2 separate regions of the Homo sapiens genome follow, and region 1 is linked to region 2. Evidence: promoter capture Hi-C in 16 types of primary human blood cells and fetal thymus (Javierre and others, 2016). All regions are on one chromosome and are shown on one strand. Each heading gives the region's core, a stretch centred on a gene start or on the middle of the fragment in contact. The rest is flanking DNA. Distances are from core to core; before and after follow the strand shown.

Region 1 (4,329 bases), core at 383-2,882, 1.3 Mb after region 2:
AGAGCGAGACTCCGTCTCAAAAAAAAAAAAAAATAGTCACACTTGTAAACATGTCCATTTGTCATATTATGCAGCTAGAAGTACACACTGTTTAGGACATGGTCAGAAAAGAATTTGTTAATCAAATTACTTGAATTAGACTAGCTCAGCCGACTACCTTTGGCCCATACAACATTATTTTTAATTATTTGCCACATTTAAAAATTGGGAGATGTCAAATAAGCAAGGAGATTTCCAGCTTCACTTAAAAAACAAAAAAGATAAATAAAATAAAAATAATATTACCATCCTCCTCATCTTTGAGTTCATGTTCTTCCATTTCATTTTCATCCGATCCATCTCCAAACTCCTTCTCGTACCGTGCCTCCATCTCCTGGAGCTCTTTCTCCAAATTGGCCATAGTCATCCAGCTCTGTTCTCTGTACTGCTCCACCAGTCTAGACACATACAGCACAGTCTCACAGCGACAAGCACGCCTCTGCATGGTTTTCACTTACTACTTAGGTTTAAAATCCATTCCCACTAGAGAGCTTGCTCCCAACCTATCCACGCTTACAAACTTAAAACCTGTGCTTAGTTAAAACCAAGGCAAAGTCACTTAAACCTGTTACCTGTTGTATGGTTAATTTTAATTGCTCCAGTAGTAGATAACAGGTTTTGAAACATGAAACTCAGCAACTTATTAAAAGTCTTCAGATGATTTTAAGTCATGTAGGTAAAGTGTTAATTTTCAAAAGATGAGGGTGGGATGAGTAGAATTCTTAAGAAGTGAATAATTTTTAAAAGTATGCTATAATGCTCTGGACACAATGCATTTACAGTAACTTTTTAATAACAAAACTTTAGAGGAACTAAAATGAACTGAGTATCTCAGGGTACACTGACCAAAAGGCAGTACTGCACGGTGGCTAAAGCAGGAAAGTCTGGAGTCAGAATTCTCAGGTTCAATTCCTGACTCTACCATTTACTGGCTCTGTGATCTCAGGCCTGTCAGCCTTGTTTCCTCAGAAGAACAAGGAGGATAAGTACTTCACAGCATTGCTGTGAGGAAGGCACTTAGAACGTGGCCTTGCACAGAGGAAGAATTCAATTAACGCTAGTTATTAATTAAAATTATTAAGTTTTACAAAAGTCTAAAGGATCTCTCAAATGTAAAGGGTCTCTGAAGGAAAATATCCAATTCAAATAAAAATTTTAGGCCAGGCACTGTGGCTCATACCTGTAATTCCAGCACTTTGGGAGGCTGAGGCGGGCAGATCGCTTGAGGCCAAGAGTACGAGACCAGACTGGCCAACAGGGTGAAACCTCGTCACTACTAAAAATACAAAAATTAGCTGGGCATGGTGGCATATTACACCTGCAATCCCAGCTACTTGGGAGGCTGAGACAGGAGAATCACTTGAACCTGGAGGCGGAGGTTGCAGTGAGCCGAGATCGCACCATTGCACTCCAGCCTGGGTGACAGAATGACACTGTCCCAAAAATAATAATAATTTTTACACAGTAGATGAAAAAACACTATCCAATGCCACAATTTAAAAAAGAAGAAAAAGCAGGATAAAGCCAGGCTGATGACTGAACCCAACATGAACATGTAAGGTACCTCTGGTGCTGCCTCTGACCCCCACCGATACTGAGAAGAGGGCCCCACGCACGCTACGCACTTGGCCTGCTTTAGCTTCTGCTGCCGCCTCATCTCTTCGGCTTTCCTCGCCTTCTCTGCATTCTGTTCTTCCACAAGTTTTCGATGCGCCTGCACTCTTTTATCTCTTTTACGAATGAAAGCTACCAGCTGACGGACAAGCTCATTCTTCTCTTTCCTTGCTTTGTCCCGAATCTTTTTGTTTTCTTTTTCCATGGCTCGTTTTTCCCAGCGGTTTGAAGCCTGTCGTGTATCATATTCTTCCTTCCATGCAAAATTCTTTTGAGTGCAGAAACTCTGCCAATAAGCGTAGAAAGGATGGACTACCTAGTGACAAAGAAAACAGATTAACTTCTGCGCTTTAAGATTTTTTTTTAGAAAAGCAGTAAATATTACTGATGCGAAACATCTTTTACCTTTCTTTTTTCATGTATATAACACTTCTAATAATCTCTGGAGAAGACAGTACTTTTAAGGCTTTCCAGAAAAAATCACTCTTCAAAATAAACTTAATGAGAAAATAAAAATAGCCTTACTAATCACTAGATGGGACCATGGTGATTAGTAAATAATCAGTAAACAATTAGTAAATTAAAAGGGAAAAGTAGGCATGGTGGCTCACGCCTGTAATCCCAGCACTTTGGAAGGCTGAGGTGGGTGGATCACCTGAGGTCAGGAGTTTGAAACCAGCCTGGCCAACATGATGAAATCCTGTCTCTACTAAAAATACAAAAATTAGCTGAGCATGGTGGTGGGAGCCTGTAATCCCAGCTACCTGGGAGGCTGAGGCAGGAGAATCGCTTGAACCCGGGAGGCTGAGGTTGCAGTGAGCTGAGGTGGTGCCAATGCACTCCAGCCTGAGCAACAGAAGTGAAATGCCATCTCAAAAAAAATAAACAAATAAAATAAAAAATAAAAAGGGAAAAGTAAAGGGGGAAGGTTGCAAGAGATCGAAAAGCTACTTCAGAAAGGAAGAGAGACAAAGAGAGGTCATGGGATAGGTTCGAGAACTAGAACCAATTGTTTTAAAACAAGGAAATGAGAAGCTGGGAGCTGTGGCTCATGCCTGTAATCCCAATCTTTTGGGAGGCCAAGGAGGGAGGCCAGGAGTTCAAGATCAGCCTGGGAAACTTAGCAAGACCCCATCTCTACAAAACAATTGACAAATTAGCTAGATGTCGTGGCGCACACTTGTGTTCCCAGCTACTCAGGAGGCTGAGGTAGGAGGATTGCTTAAGCCCAGGAGTTTGAGGCTGCTGTGAGATATGATCATACCACTGCACTGCAGCCTGGGTGACAGAGTGAGACCATCTCAAAAAGTAAAATAAAATTTAAAAATGACACAGTGATAAATACTAATTATAGAACAATGCATTTTTATTTTACCGTATCATAGTCACTCTGGGAGTCTCCAAAAGTTGGGAAATCATCAACCTCTTCCTCTAACACAGATTCTAGTTCTTCCTTGGCAATCATTTCAAAAACATTACGATACACCGTGTAAAATCCCTAAAAAACAGTAACAAAAACAAATTCTTAATACTTTTGCAGCCTGATCACAGAAAAAGATTTTAAAATACAAAATGAAAAATTTTAATGTTGAAGAATTTTGGGACAAAGTTCAGTCCCTGCAATACATTTAGATTTCAACTAGAGGTTTTTATACACTGACAGCTTAAACATGAAGGCAATGCATCTTCAGTTTTCAAAATGAACACTGCTTCACTTTCTATTACAGAATAGTTTTAAGAATTCTCTTTGTATGTGAGTCTTAATGAAGTACTTGATGAGAAATCAAGGGTGAGTTCATTTATCTTACCTTTTCATCATCTCCATAACCAGAATAACAGGTAACGGTGAAATAGCGTAGCAAATCTAAGCTGTCATCTTGATATTCGCCATCAAACCCACCTTTAAGTAGGGCCTCTCTATGATTATCATACCTGAAAAACAAAAATTAGCATCATTGTGAAGGCTGAATAAGTAAGAATTCAAAAGGATTTCTTGCTCCTTTTGAATATTATTATTGTACATTTTTGGTTGTTGATATGTCCAATCCATAACCAAAAATTTTTAATGAAATATTAACATGAAAAGAGTTCATAATCTTTCACAGAACTGTTAATTATAACTAGGCCTGCAACTTCTGATACATTATACAATGCTAGCCCACATGAACAGGGGAATTTAAAAAGCCAAGGAATTTCCATGACTGTCTCTGAGTCCCGTACTTCCACAGGAAAGAAACATAAAACAGGACATAGGAAATCTGGCCCACAGAATCATTACACATCTGTGATTTGGAAATTTACCAAGATGCACTGGAATAAGAATCTTCCTAAATTTATGTCAACTTAATCTAGGAGCTTCACACACACACAATTGCTTCTCATAATAACTCTGTAAAGGCAGTTATTATCTCCATCTGATATAAAAGGAAATGGAAGCTCAGTGATATTACATAATTTGTCATCCATAATAATAAAACCAGTAACCAGCAAAGTCTGAATTCAGAAGCAGGTCTCCTACATTGGGAAGACCAGCTCCTAGCCACTACACGGTACTGCTTCCAGGTAAAAAGAGAGTTACTAGGCAAGAGCTTTGACTAAAAAGACAAAGGAATCCCAAGGATCAGAAAACAACCCAAGATCTTGAGAAGAGAGTAGGCAAAAGGAAGTCAGGAAAGA
Region 2 (4,102 bases), core at 166-2,665:
TTTTTTTTTCCTTCCTAATGCTAATGAAGTTTAAAATAGTAAGACTACAAAGGAGTCTGAGGATAGTTATAGATGTTACCTCTAGAAGCTCAGGTTATTAAGGTTGTTACACTACACGTCACTATTAGCAGCTGCTGTGAGGGAAAGTTCTTGGTGAGAACGGGTCAGTGGTAGAACTTTACCAAGTAAACACCTATCGGGCTTCATTGTGTATGCTCCCAGTCCAATACACTACCTGGCACACAGCAGGCACACCGCGGGAACCCACGAATGAACGCTGGTGCTGGTGGGCCCGTGAGGAGAGTCATAGATTCACTGAATCGATTTGGACTTGGTAGAACCTTGGGGTCACCCTAACCCCCTTTTTACAGATGAGGAATCTGAGGCCCAGAAAGATGAGGTAACCTGCCCAAAGTCCAGAAGCGACGTAGCGCCAGGACTACAAAGGAGCAAACACAGTGCCAGGGGAAGGGGATCTAAGGAGCTGCGGAATTGAACAGCAGGATGTGCACTGCCATGTGGTTCTCCCCTTACAATGGGACGTTTCCTTCTGTTCTCGTCACACCCCAGCCCAGGTCCTGATCACTCCACGGGTCATTATCCCAACAGCATCCCTTCCTCCTCTTCTTGCCTCCCAAGCTACCCAAGATTCCAAAGCCAGATCAATAGTCATCAAACATTGCTTTAACTCACTCCTTTCCAGTTAAAAGCTTTCAAAGAACTAATTCATTTGGACTTTGTCCTATAGGTAGGGCTCTTCGGGGGGGCAGGGGGCAGCGGGGCGGGCACTGGGTCCCACGCCGAGAGGATTTCGTGCCAAGCCACGCACACGGTGCAGCAGGAGCCGGGTCCGCCTCCTCAGCCCCCAGCCCGGCCCCAGACACACCAGCTATCACACCGACCCTGGTCAAATAAACCAATGGGCACGTGGTCGGCCTGCAGAACAGAACCCAAGCGAGCATATGCCAGGAACCTGCCTTCCCGCCAGCCGCTCAAAACCCCACCCGCTGGCCCCGCGCCGCCTCAGACCGGATCCAGCTGGATTCCTCAGGGCGACGCAATCGCCTAACAGAATTCTACCTCTTTCTCAGGCCGCAGCCAATGGCGCGGCCCCTCGGATCCGGAGCCGCCGCGGGCTCTGATTGGCCGATAGAGTTAGCCTGGGGGCGGGAGAAGAGCGACCTCGGGGAAGCGTGTGGTGCGGGGAGGTCGCCCCCGGGCGGCGAAGCAGCCATTATGCAGGCGTGAGTGAAACGAATAAACAAACAAACAAAACCCACTAGCTGGGGCCTCCATTTCTTCCCCGCCCACCTTTCTCCCGCGTGGGGTCTCCCGTTTCCCAATCGCCACGCTTTCCCCGCCTTCGTCAACGCCTGGGTACGTCCCCCTAGCCGCGTGGGCCACGCACGTCCTGGCACTTAACCTCTGCCCGTCCGGCGCGAAGTTAGAGGCCCGGGCGGCGCGGACGGCGCGCACTCCCGGCGGTAGGGAGCTGAGGCAAGGGGCCCGAGCCCAAGCCCGCGGCCGCGGCCCGGCCCACGATGACTTGCTACCGAGGCTTCTTGCTGGGCAGCTGTTGTCGCGTGGCGGGCGGCCGGGCGGCGGCGCTGCGGGGACCGGGTGCGGGAGGCCCCGCCGCGCGGCCCCGGCTGGGCGGTGACGGTGGCGGCCGGCGGCACCTGGGGCAGGGGCAGCCGCGCGAGCTGGCGGGCTGTGGCAGCCGCGCGGACGGCGGCTTCCGCCCCTCCCGGGTGGTGGTGGTGGCCAAAACCACCCGGTACGAGTTCGAGCAGCAGCGGTACCGTTACGCGGAGCTCTCGGAGGAGGACCTGAAGCAGCTGGTGGGTCCTGGCTCGGCCCCGCTTCGCTCCCGGGCTCGGCCGGGGCTCTGGTGGCGGCTGCGCCCCCTCGGGGGGACCTCTCGGGACGACTCTTCCCAGGGCACCGCAGATGCCGGTCCTGCCTCTCTCGCGGCCCCCAGGTCCTCTGGCTTCTCCCTGGGCCTCCTTTGCCTTTGGGCGTGTGTGCGAGGGAGAGGCAGGGCCGGGGAGAGGGGGAGAGAGAGGGACAGTGGTTCATGCAGGGACTTAGGAGGCAGGGGCGCCGCGGGGAGGGCGAAGAGGGGCTGCCGAGTGGCCTCAGAGTGAGGGGTTTGAGGATTCGTTGGTGCCCTCGCCGCCCCCGCCCTCGTTCCCTGGTTGGGACCCACTCCAAGAAAGTGAGCCAGTGGCCTGAGGTCTGGACGCCCTGCGAACAGCTCCCCTGGCCGCCGCGAGAAAGGGGGCCCAGGGCGCCGCTGAGGGCTGCCGGGGGAAAAGGGCCGAAACAACCGCGGACACACCCCCTTTTACTCTGCAGGACTGCGAGGCCTAGGGCACTCCGGAAAGTCCTTCAGCGTGAGCCTTTTCCTTGCTGGAACGTGGTCGTTGGACACTACGAGCTTGTTTTAAAAGCACAGGTCTTTGGTGCTAAGAAGGAAAAGGGAGAAAATTTGACTTGTATATGTACGTTATTAAGGAGAAATGTCAGGACAAGGGGCTGGTATACTGGGTAGTGTGTGAAATAAAAAAGCCTGCGACTCTTGTGCAGCAGTATCTCCACAATATACCATATTTGATATGTTTATTAATATATCTGCAAAGATACAAATCCAAGGGAAAAACCAGAGTTTGAATCTTCCTGTTGTCATCCCCCCCCACCAACTTTAAAAACAGTTTCTGATCCCATACCACCATCCACCAACTTTAGGAAAAGGAGAGTGCCCGGTGCTACCATGAGCAGTATGTCCAGAAAAATATATTGGAAATCTCTTAATTGTTGGCACTGTGCACCAAAAGGTTTTGGAATTAATTGCACATAACTGATTTAGTTTAATTCTGTGCAAGACTAGACAACCTGTTGGAAACTTCTGGTATCGTGTGATCTTAGCGAAGTTATTTTGTAGAGGCATCAAAATGAAATTGTAAATCATCTTTGCTTAAGTGCTGAATCTGTTGTCAACATTAAACATCCTGCTTCTTTGTTGGGTTTACTGAAGAGGGCTCCTGCATTCACCTGATGGGAGTCTAGATGTGTAGATTTGTTTTCTTTTTCCTAAGTGTTTGAAAATGACTGTTTATAGAATACACTTGCATCATTTAAAGAATAAAGGGTTTGAACAGGAGGTTAGAGTAGTTGAGTTTGTATTAGGGAGTGAAACTAGAGGTGAGATAGGGACTAGTAATGTTCTAAGAAAGCACAGTGTTACTATTTGGGGAAAGTGGTGTGCCCTTTGGGTTGTACTAATTTTGCAAAGTCTAGCTTGTAGGATTTGTCAAATGCCATGTATGCATAAATATGTGCATACAGTTTTATCGAAGCTTCCCACAACAATTTAAAATAGCTCACTTGGCATGTTCAGAGTGTGGGATTAAGAGTGAAGAGCTCAGTTCTAGGCCCTGGTTCTGTGTGGTTAACTTCCTATGTGTGTTCTTCTCTGGGCCTCATAGGTGGAAATGATACTTTTTGTATAGTAGTGTCAGTTTTCAAAGTGCTTCACCTAATTCAGTATGTGAATTGCAGAGGTAGTACCAGATAGCCTCCAAGGCCCTTTACAGTACTGGCATTTTGAAACTGTGGATAACGTTTTCAAGGCCTCAAGAAAATGGGTGGCATCTCAGTTAGGATTAACTCTTGGACCTCTGAACTAGATTACCACTTAATAAAAAAACTTTTAAAATGTAGGGAAAATCAATAAGTCTTAAAAAGTCAAACTACCTAAGTGTACCCGTTCTGAGTGGAGAAATCTCTAATAGGTAAATATTTGTCTATTGCTAGGTAATGCTGTTTGGGATAAGCCAGCTTTGAAGTAAAACTCGTGGGCTGTAGAATACACAGTTTTGTAATTGCCAGGCAGTGGAATAGTTTTTGTTGGTGGTGTTGTCATTACAGTTTTATTGGATAAGTTCCTTACTGATTTGAATTTGTGTTATAGTTTATATAAAGGCCCATACTCAGAATGCAATAGCATTAGTTGTAGACCAGATGAGAGATTATTAACAGGCCAAAGAATACTGGGCTGTGTGAAGCTGTCCTAAAATGGGATTCTGTAATAGGAGTGATA

Evidence for each region. Contacts are between HindIII fragments. The CHiCAGO score rates a contact against its expected background, and 5 or more counts as called.
Region 1: a contact is called between a fragment that was not itself captured here and the fragment with the promoter of NADK2 in region 2, in 3 of 17 cell types (non-activated CD4 T cells, activated CD4 T cells and naive CD8 T cells). The highest score is 6.9, in non-activated CD4 T cells.

Annotation. Positions count from the first base shown.
Region 1 is chr5:34,934,966-34,939,294 of GRCh38, reverse strand. DNAJC21 (DnaJ heat shock protein family (Hsp40) member C21) reads right to left here. Exons shown (of 12, transcript NM_001012339.3): 3 at 3,462-3,585; 4 at 3,029-3,151; 5 at 1,665-1,969; 6 at 286-437. Among named protein-coding and RNA genes, the nearest start is that of DNAJC21, 7.6 kb to the right of the region's middle. The HindIII fragment of the contact is 5,867 bases long and covers 1-4,329 here.
Region 2 is chr5:36,239,238-36,243,339 of GRCh38, reverse strand. It overlaps NADK2 (NAD kinase 2, mitochondrial), which reads left to right and starts at 1,415. Exons shown (of 12, transcript NM_001085411.3): 1 at 1,415-1,841. The coding sequence starts at 1,542. It overlaps LOC124900962 (a long non-coding RNA gene), which reads right to left and starts at 1,438. Exons shown (of 3, transcript XR_007058733.1): 1 at 1,312-1,438. RefSeq lists enhancers at 891-1,090, 2,441-2,510 and a silencer at 1,331-2,350. The HindIII fragment of the contact is 2,649 bases long and covers 713-3,361 here.